Regions from separate parts of the Homo sapiens genome. Here regions 1 and 3 are each linked to region 2. The links are contacts of gene promoters, found by promoter capture Hi-C in blood cells and fetal thymus (Javierre and others, 2016). All regions are on one chromosome and are shown on one strand. The core of a region is centred on a gene start or on the middle of the fragment in contact, and the rest is flanking DNA. Distances in the headings are between cores, read along the strand shown. Region 1 has its middle 11 kb from the start of BCKDHB. Region 2 holds the start of IBTK (inhibitor of Bruton tyrosine kinase). Region 3 holds the start of LCA5 (lebercilin LCA5).

Evidence for each region. Contacts are between HindIII fragments. The CHiCAGO score rates a contact against its expected background, and 5 or more counts as called.
Region 1: a contact is called between a fragment that was not itself captured here and the fragment with the promoter of IBTK in region 2, in 1 of 17 cell types (activated CD4 T cells). The highest score is 6.1, in activated CD4 T cells.
Region 3: a contact is called between the fragment with the promoter of LCA5 here and the fragment with the promoter of IBTK in region 2, in 4 of 17 cell types (activated CD4 T cells, non-activated CD4 T cells, total B cells and 1 more). The highest score is 11.3, in activated CD4 T cells.

What each region holds. Positions count from the first base shown.
Region 1 is chr6:80,094,021-80,096,890 of GRCh38, reverse strand. No RefSeq gene overlaps it. Among named protein-coding and RNA genes, the nearest start is that of BCKDHB, 11 kb to the left of the region's middle. The HindIII fragment of the contact is 3,734 bases long and covers 1-2,870 here.
Region 2 is chr6:82,245,654-82,248,993 of GRCh38, reverse strand. It overlaps IBTK (inhibitor of Bruton tyrosine kinase), which reads left to right and starts at 1,250. Exons shown (of 29, transcript NM_015525.4): 1 at 1,250-1,432. RefSeq lists a silencer at 1,448-1,617. The HindIII fragment of the contact is 2,262 bases long and covers 94-2,355 here.
Region 3 is chr6:79,535,856-79,538,773 of GRCh38, reverse strand. It overlaps LCA5 (lebercilin LCA5), which reads left to right and starts at 1,344. Exons shown (of 8, transcript NM_001122769.3): 1 at 1,344-1,609. It also overlaps a transcript of SH3BGRL2 not described here. RefSeq lists enhancers at 1-300, 831-880, 875-1,448. The HindIII fragment of the contact is 3,782 bases long and covers 386-2,918 here.

The sequences.
Region 1 (2,870 bases), core at 101-2,600, 2.2 Mb after region 2:
AATAAAAAGCAGAGATTGTTAAACTGGATGAAAAATCAAGATCCAAATAAATGCTGTCTACAGAAGACACACTTTAGATTCAAATACTTAAACGTAAAAGAATAGAAAGATATATCTTGCAAGCACCAGCCATGAGAAAGGTAGAGAGGCTATACTAATATTAGAAAAAAATAGACTTTAAAACAAAAATACGGTTTCTACAGATAAAGAAGGATACTTTTATGAAGACAAAAGGGTCAATTCATAAGGAAAATATAAGCAATTTTAAACATATATGCACCTAACAACAGAGTACCAACATACACGGAGCAAAAACTGACAGAAATGATGGGAGAAATGGACAATTCTACAACAATGGTTGGAACTACAATAACTCACTTTAATAGTGGGTAGAACAACGAGGCAGAAAATCAGCAAGGAAATGGAAGACTTAAACACACTGTAAACCAACTAGACCTAACAGGTATTTATAGAACACTCCACCTAAAAACACCAGACTATATGTTTTTCTCAGGTGTATATAGAACCTTCTCCAAGATACAGTATGTGTTAGGCCATAAAGTAAACCTCAATACATTTAAAATAATAGAAAGAGTTATGCATGGTGGTGTCCACCTATAGCCTTAGCTACTCAAGAGGCTGAGACAAGAGAATCACTTGAGCCCAGGATTTCAGGCTGTAGTACACTATGATTACACCTGTAAATAGCCACTGCACTCCAGCCTGTGCAATATTGTGAGACCCCATCTCTAAAACAAAAAGGAAAAAGAGAATAGAAATAATGCAAAGTATGTCCTCTGACCACAATGGAATAAAGAATTAAATTACAAATCAAATGGGTCAAAAAATAAATCAAAGGGAAATGATATGGTTTGGGTCTGTGTCCCAGCCCAAGTCTCTTGTCAAATTGTAATCCCAAATATTGGAGGTGGGGCCTGGTGGGAGGTGATTGGATTGTGGGGGCAGATTTCCCCCCATGGTGCTGTTCTTTCACGACAGTGAGTTATCACAAGATCTGGTTGTTTAAAAAGTGTGTAGCACCTCCCCCCATCTCTCTTCCTCCTGCTCTAGCCACATAAGATGTGCTGGCTTCCCTTCACCTTCTGCCATGATTGCAAGTTTCTTGAGGCCTCCCCGGCCATGCTTCCTGTACAGCCCGCAGAACTGTGAGCCAATTAAACCTCTTTTCTTTATGAATTACCCAGTCTCAGGTATTTCTTCATAAGAGTGTGACAACAGACTGATACAAGAAATTAGAAAATACTTACAGATGGATAAAAATGAAGATACAACATATTAAAACATATGTAACTAAAGTAGTGCTTAGAGGAAAATTTACAACTGTAAATGCCTGATTTAAAAAGAAGTAAGATCTCAAACCAATAACCCAAATTCCTGGCCTAAGACACCGGGGGGAAAAAAGAATAAACTAAGTCTAAAGCAATCAGAAGGAAGGAAACAAGAGCTAGGTTTTTTGAAAACATCAAAAAAAATCGACAAACTTTAAGCTAGATTGACCAAGAGAAAAAGAGAAGAATCAAATTACCAGACCAGAAATGAAAGAAAGGAAATGATTTTTAGATGAAAGGAGTGAAAAGGATCAAAAGCCATAAGTAGGTGAGGAAATATAAAAGGTATCATCTTTTTTCATGTCTTAATTCCATTAAAAGACAAATGAGTATTTAAAGTAAAAACTATAGGTGGATGTGGTGGTTCACTCTTATGATCCTAGTGCTTTGGGAGACTGAGGTGGAAGGTTTGCTTAAGCCCAGGAGTTCAAGACCAGCCTGGGCAACATAGCAAGACCCCATCTTTAAACAAAAATAAAAAAATAAAATAAATGAAGTAAAAATTATAACACTGTGTTGTGGGGTTTGTAATGTATTTACATGTAAAATATAAGACAATAATAGGATAAAGGGTGGAGTATAAATGGAATTATACTCTCCAAGGTTCTTACAGTTTGCATGAAGTAATATGATATTAAATCTAAGTAGAAGTGATACGTTAAGAATGAGACCCCTAGAGCAATAATTCCTTACAATTCCTACAGCAACCACTAAAAAGTCTTTCAAAGAGATATAACTAAAAGATATAACAAAAAGATAAAACTTAAAAGAGAAATTAAAATGGAATAAACATTCAGCCCCAAAGAAAGCAACTCTATTAAAGATTCTTCATAGGGTTGCTATATTCAAAGGATCATCTTGTAAAAGAAAACTGGCTGTACAAATAAGTTAGTGTAAATTAACTGTTATATGCTATAATAGACACAGTGAGATAAGTAATTGGTTTAGATACCAGCTCTGTTTCTAGCTGAATGACCTTGAGTGTATCATTTAACCCGTCAAGTCTCATGGAGAGAACATTAAAACTACCTAGAAGGATGTCATGATGACAAAATCACATGATACATACAAGTTACTTGTACATACCAATCGCTCAATAAGTATTTGTTGAATTAATTTACATGTGTAAACACATGTAAAAGATGTATATGTGCCAGTTCCAGAAGAAAAGTCTAGTAATATTAACTAGGATTGTTTTTATTAAGAATTCATAATTATGGAAGATGCCTTATCTCTCTGGAAAACAGAAGAAAACAAACCCCACCACCCGCCCAAAAAAGTCACAATTACGGATTGTAGTAACTTGGTCAAGACACCAGGTGGCATGAGATAATAAAAATTATTACCACTTGCTACTATTCTTCAGAATACAATTGTACAATGATTTGCATACTACATATTTAAGAAAAGTTGCAATTTAAATTTTCTAAATCAATGTACAGATTTCAAGGTGCCTTTTGATTAGTTCACTTTCCAATAGCAATTCCATTTCAGCCTTTCAGTGTATCTGCCTTTGCATCT
Region 2 (3,340 bases), core at 1-2,500:
GTCTCGATCTCCTGACCTCGTGATCCGCCCGCCTCGGCCTCCCACATTGCTGGGATTACAGGCGTGAGCCACCGCGCCCGGCCAACTTAAGCTTATTTTCAAAACCACTCAATTTTGACATTACAAACTGGTTTTTGTTTTGTAGAAGGACATTAAGAATAAAGAGCAAAGAAACAATTATGTGCTGGGAAGGGCAGTAGGAGGGCTGGGTCCTAGTCTCCCTTTCTCTTTCGCTAAGCAGCTGTGTGGCTTTGGGCTAGTAACCTACCCTCCCACAAAAAAGGCTTCAAAAGAGAGCAAGCAGAGCTCAGTGGGCATTAAGACATGCGCAACTCCTTTCTTTTAGAGATTAGATGAGGTCGACTCAGTGGCTTGTAAAACTCAACGTGGCAGAGCTGTACAGCCAACTCATGATTCTTAGTGTCGTTTGTTTTGAGTCACACTACACCTCCTTGAACAATCATTTACTGAGTGCTTACCGTATTAGGCATTCAGCAGCAGTGTGTTTCCCATTCAGTAACCTAGTATTGATTATTGGCTACTGTCCCTCCTAGCATTTTTCACTTGACCACTTTCTAAATGGCCTTTAGATTCAGAGTTCAAGTGGAAAAAGCCTAGTGTAAGCCTGGTGTCAGGCAGTGAGTGGCGTGACCCGGGTCGGCAGCTAGTCCTACGGTGGTGATCTAAGAGGGCAGTGACGCCTTCTGACCAAGGGAGTGACTGCCAGATAATCCGGGTGTATGGAGATCCAGAGAGGGGTGAGGCTGGGTTTACGGAGACTACACCTTTGGCTTTGCAGTAACCCCACTGCTAAGGCCATGGGAGGAAACTCTTCTGTGCAGGACGCCTATGCACTTGGCTTCTGCTGCGTAGCGACCGGGTGTCCAAGGCATCCTGCCAGGTCTCCTTCTCCACTCGGGTTTAGCCTCCCCCGCGAGTCTCCAGCTACCTAGAGAGACGTTTCTAACTACGAGATGGCTGGCCTGAAAGGGACACTCCCATCACCGTTGTTGGCCTAGAGTTCCCCGCTGCGGCCTTTTTCTTTTCCCCGCCCCTGGCCTGAGTCAGCGGCCCCAAGGCCGGCGAGGTCAAGTTCCTTTGGGGCGCCAGGGAAAAGGCCATGGCAGAGGTGCTGCCACGCGAAACCTTCTGGGCAGGCACCAGCCAATCATCAAGAGACATACAGGAGCCCCAGCCAACCAGCGCCCGCCTTATTACTGGGAACCGCCCGCTCGGGCCCTTCCTCTACATCCCCGTTCCCGATTCCTGTAGTAGCGGCTGTATTGCAGCCGCCTGCCGAACTGACCCGGGTCTGGGGACTGGCCCCTCTGGCGCCGTTCGGTTTCTCTTATTGCCTTCACTGAGGATGAGTCCCTTTGTGGCTCTATGTGGACCCTGCGGAATCCACCGGCGCAGTTTCATCTAGCGACTGGTGAGGGAGGGCTTGGCGCTGCCCGACCGTGCGGTGCGGCTTCCCTTCAGCCCGGGGGCAGGGGGAGAGTATTCGCCTTCTGGAGGGTGCGGGTGGCTGCGGACGGCGGCGCGGGGGGACCGTGGGGAGGGGACTCTGTGGCCCCGAGGCTGCCGGGCTTCGCGCGAGGCGGCGCGGAGAGGGCCGAGTGGCCAGGGTCCCTACCGCCCCCCTCAGCTAATGAATGGCCTGTCCCGGCGATGCGCTACGCTCCCGTCCTGCTGGACACGCCCTCCAGCGACATTGCATTCCTAGTTGTGATAGTTATGTAGTGTCACTTTCCTTCGAGTCTTGGATTTGAAGCCATTCCTGTGGGCGCTCATGTTCCTTATCCCCTTCCTGGAGTCACAAGTTTGAGTCCACCCTGGGGATACTGACTCTGGGGAAGCAGGTCGTGAAATCTGATAAGTGGACATTGATTGCTATGTAAAAAGGAACTGATTCTTTTTGGAGGGTGGAGGGTTGAGAGAGACAGAGAAGACAGGCCCTTTGTTTTTGTAACAGGCAGAGCTGTCTGGCTCAAAGAGTTTTAGTTCAGCTGCGAATTAGGTAACATAGGCCGTCCTTGACTCCTGTTTTCCAACGTAGTTCATAAAACTTGACTGTGTTAGCCAGAGATTCATGTAGCACCTTTTAACTTATGCCTCGAAGTAGGCCATTTGAAATTTATCAGAAATACTGAAAGGATATGACTTTTATGAGTAGTAGTGTTTCAGTGCCCATAAAGTGGTGTAAATTCACAGGCTTGCCAGCCCCCTCTTGATCATTTCTCTTTTTGTATTTTGAATTCCTTAACTTTTATTTGTTTTAGAAATTGAGGCAAGGTAGATGAGGACAAAACTGGTTTCTAAAAATAATTACATTTGCAAATATTTGCAGAAGCTTTAGTCAAACCAGAGTTTACTTCAAGAAATTTTTTAGGCCGGGCGCGGTGGCTCACGCCTGTAATCCCAGCTACTGGGGAGGCTGAGAATTGCTTGAACCCGGGAGGTGGAGGTTGCAGTGAGCCGAGATCGCGCCGCTGCACTCCATCCTGGGCGACTGAGTGTGGCACCATCTCAAAAAAAAAAAAAAAAAAAAAGATGCCTGTAATCCCAGCAGTCTGGGAGGCCAAGGTGGGCGGATCACTTGAGGTCAGGAGTTCGAGGCCAACTTGGTGAAACCCCGTCTCTACCAAAAATACAAAAAAATCAGCCAGGCATGGTGATGTGTGCCTGTAATCCCAGCTACTCGGGAGGCTGAGGCAGAATCGCTTGAGTCTCCAGCTGCCCTACCAAACTGCTTTTGAATTCAATTATTTTGAATTGAATTCCATGGTACTTTTTTCTACTACACTATACTACTTGCATTGAAATTTTTCTAACTGCCTTTTGGGAGAGCAGTTTGGTAGCATAGAATAGGTGGGATCAAGAGCACTTTTCTGTCGGTATTATTTTAGGTAGGCTTTTTAAACTTTCACATGAATCTCCTCATCAGAAAATGAAAGTGATCATATTTACAGGGGCAATAATAAGGATTATATTTATGTAGAGCACTGTGTATAATGTATAAAACAAAATTTCACCTATAATTTTTGTGTGTTTTTTCCGTTGTTTAATTTTGTTTTGCTTTACTCACTTCCAAAGTATTGACCCCTTACTCTTCTTTCTAGTTTCCCTATCTGTTCTCCAAGCCAGAAACCTGGGAATTACCACCACATCTTGTCAATTCAAGATCCTAAGTATGTCTTTGGATTGCCTGCCCTTTTTTTTTTAAATCTCTAAGAAAAGGCACATAAGGCTGTTCAAAATCCTGTCTATCCTTGTGTGTATGTTAGGCCTCACTTCTTTCTGTCTTCTGAATTATTTAGAAATTTTGGAATGGACCAAG
Region 3 (2,918 bases), core at 95-2,594, 2.7 Mb after region 2:
GTGGTTTCATTCTCAGCTCTCCTTCAGCAATCCTGATCTGACGCTCCTGTGACAGACATTTGTCCACGTAAATACGGTATGTTTTCTGATTCTTCCTAGCAACTTCCTTTATAAGTAATCCACCCATACATTTACATGTTAATTCTAACAGAGTCCATAATAACGAGTGAGCTATTTTAACAGTGTCAGCAGAGACAGATTAAAGAATTGATGAAAAGTAATTCCGTGCAATTTAGGGATTACTCATCTTATTTTCACTAACAGATGACTGCCATCTTGTACAGATGTATTTCGCATACAGAAAATTACATTTAATCACAATATTGTTTGGGTGGGTTAGTCTGTAACTTGAAGTAAAATGTATTGACAGGATAAAATGAAAGCTTTGAAACAGTGCAAAGGTGGAAAAACGAGGTTGAGCGAGAAGCAGGAATTACCAATCTTCATGGTTAGAAGATTCATTAAACGCATTTGCCTTCAAATATTAGATTCTCTACAGAATGGTGGTAAAAAGGCCAGTGAGAAATTAACAATAGTGAGAACACCAGAGTAGTGTTAAACCACCTTGATAATCAGATGGCTCGGAGCAGTTTAAAGCCCTCACGAAAGAGGATTTTTTTTTACCTTCCCTGTCTCCCGCAATTAATGCCATTTCTAAAAGAGAAAATATGTCACACATCAGCGCTCAATAGGCTGACATGCTCCTCAAAACGTTCCTTAAAAAAAAAAAAAAAAAAAAAAAAAAAAAAAAAAAACTTGTGTGCAAATATTTCAGATGCCATTCCACCCCAAACCCGTTCCAAAACCTAAAAATCACTTTCAAGCCAAACTCACGGCTCGTTGGTGATTCACAGCCAGGATCTCGAGGCAGGAACAATAGTGCACTCACCCCGCATCCTCCTGAATCAGCCATTTCGGTAAGAAGATCCAGAAGCACTAGCAGTTTGTTTGTAATTTGTTTACAATTTAAAAGCAAGTTATTTCCCAAAGGAAATCTAAGCAATTGTTAAGTGTTTTACATTACGCAGTCGCCAATTTTACAATTCATATCATGAACCCACTTTGCCCTCCGCCCGCGTCCCTCTCGGAGCCCACGACGCTCAGCAGTCGAGCCCTGGCACCGCACAGCCCGTAGGAGCCTGGAGCGCTCCGCGTTTTGCCCCAATTTCCCTACTTGGGGGTCTCCGCTACAGCTAGAGCGGTCGGCCAATGGAGACCTTCTCCCGCACTCGCCGTCCCGCCTTCCAGTTCCACTGAAGCCAATAAAAAGGGCCGTCTGGAGACAGAAGCCAATGGGAGCTCGGGTAGAGTCATCATGATTGGCTGCGGTCTCTTCGTAGTGCAGTCTAGGCCTCCGCCTCCGTTACCCTGGAGCCCAGGTTACCGCCGCTGCCACCCAGGAGCCCCGATCCTCGCCTCTGTCCCATCCTTGTGTTCAAACCTCCCGCATCTCGGCAACCTCGGCACCCGCCCGGCAGCCTCCGCAGGAACCAGGCACCCGCTCTTTGGCGGTCAGACGCCGAGGCCCCAGCTGGGAGTTTGGTCCTAAGAGGGAAGGCAAGGAGGCGGGACGCCGCATCGGCTCTGCTGAAGAGCCTGCGGGTTGGAGGTGGGCTTTGAAGTGGGCGTGGAGACGGCGGGGGAGGTGGAGGTGCGAGGTGAGGCTGGGTTGAAGCGTCTGGTAGCTAGTGAAGGGGCGTTCGTGGATGGGGGCCTGCGGGTGGTTCTTAAAGCAGGGAAGATGAAGGGATTAGGGATGGGGGAGGATGTAGGGACCGCGAGGAGAAGGAAGACCTAGGAAAATGAGTAAAGAGCTCGGCTTCTGAGAGGGTCCCGAGGAAGGGAGGTTGACCGGCACTGGGGGGACTGGGAAGTTAGGAGGAGAGGAGCTGGGAAAGGGTATTTACTTCCTGGGACCGAGAAGAGAAGAAAGGGAGCAAGCGGATCTAGAGAAGTGGTTGTTATTAAAACAAACAAAACAAAAACCCCGGAGGCCCGTGGAGACTCAAGACTAGAGAGGAGGGGCAGGGCCAAGGGCCAAGACGGAAAAGGAGGCTTTGGTAGCTCTCGGATAATAATAGATGTGTTATTATTAAAACTGTGGTTAGAGTGGAAAGCCGTACTTGTCCAGGCTGTGATACTTCTATACATCCTTCAGGGATGGGATGAGAGGAGTAAAGATGGTTAGAAATAAAAGAAAAAAGAAAGTGCCTTTTTGGCATACTCGAGTTGGAGTCGGTACTCAGATACGTGATGTTTACGTTAGATAGACCGTGGGATAGTGTTTAACAGTGAAGAGCCCTGGTCCAGTTCATCTGATATAAACCCCTTTTTTGTTCACTTTGTTCTTTGGAAAGTATACTTGGGCACATACATATTTATTCCCCTCCTTTATCTTCACGTTAAGAACTTGCATTAGAGATATCTTTGCAATCAGAAGTCATCATTTAGTTTTTGGCAGAGGGAGTGGCTATATGTGTTTTAGAATGGTAAAACCGATGTTTCCAGTTCTTTACTCATTCCCTCTTTCTTTTGCATGGTTATTTTAATCTATGTTTTTTTCCAGTTGTTCCACATTTAAATTCTATATTACCATTTTAAATATTTCACTTTGTGATTTCCCATGTTAGCTAGTATGTTTATCCAAATAAGTTATAGGAAATAATAGTTTGTTTTGATTCTCTAAGTTGACAAAGTATCATTTTAAATATCAAAAAGTAGTTTGTGACTTTGGAAAAGAGATTTTTCTTCTTTTGTGAGTCACATCTCTTCCGTTACACATATTGTGGAACTATAATTCTGTAGGACACAATGGAAGCCCATTAAATAAAGATGCTACCCTTCTCTTGGGTTCTTCATCTGCCTGTCATTCTTCAACTCCTTTGTGGGATCTTCTTCCTCGGCCCACCATATTTCAT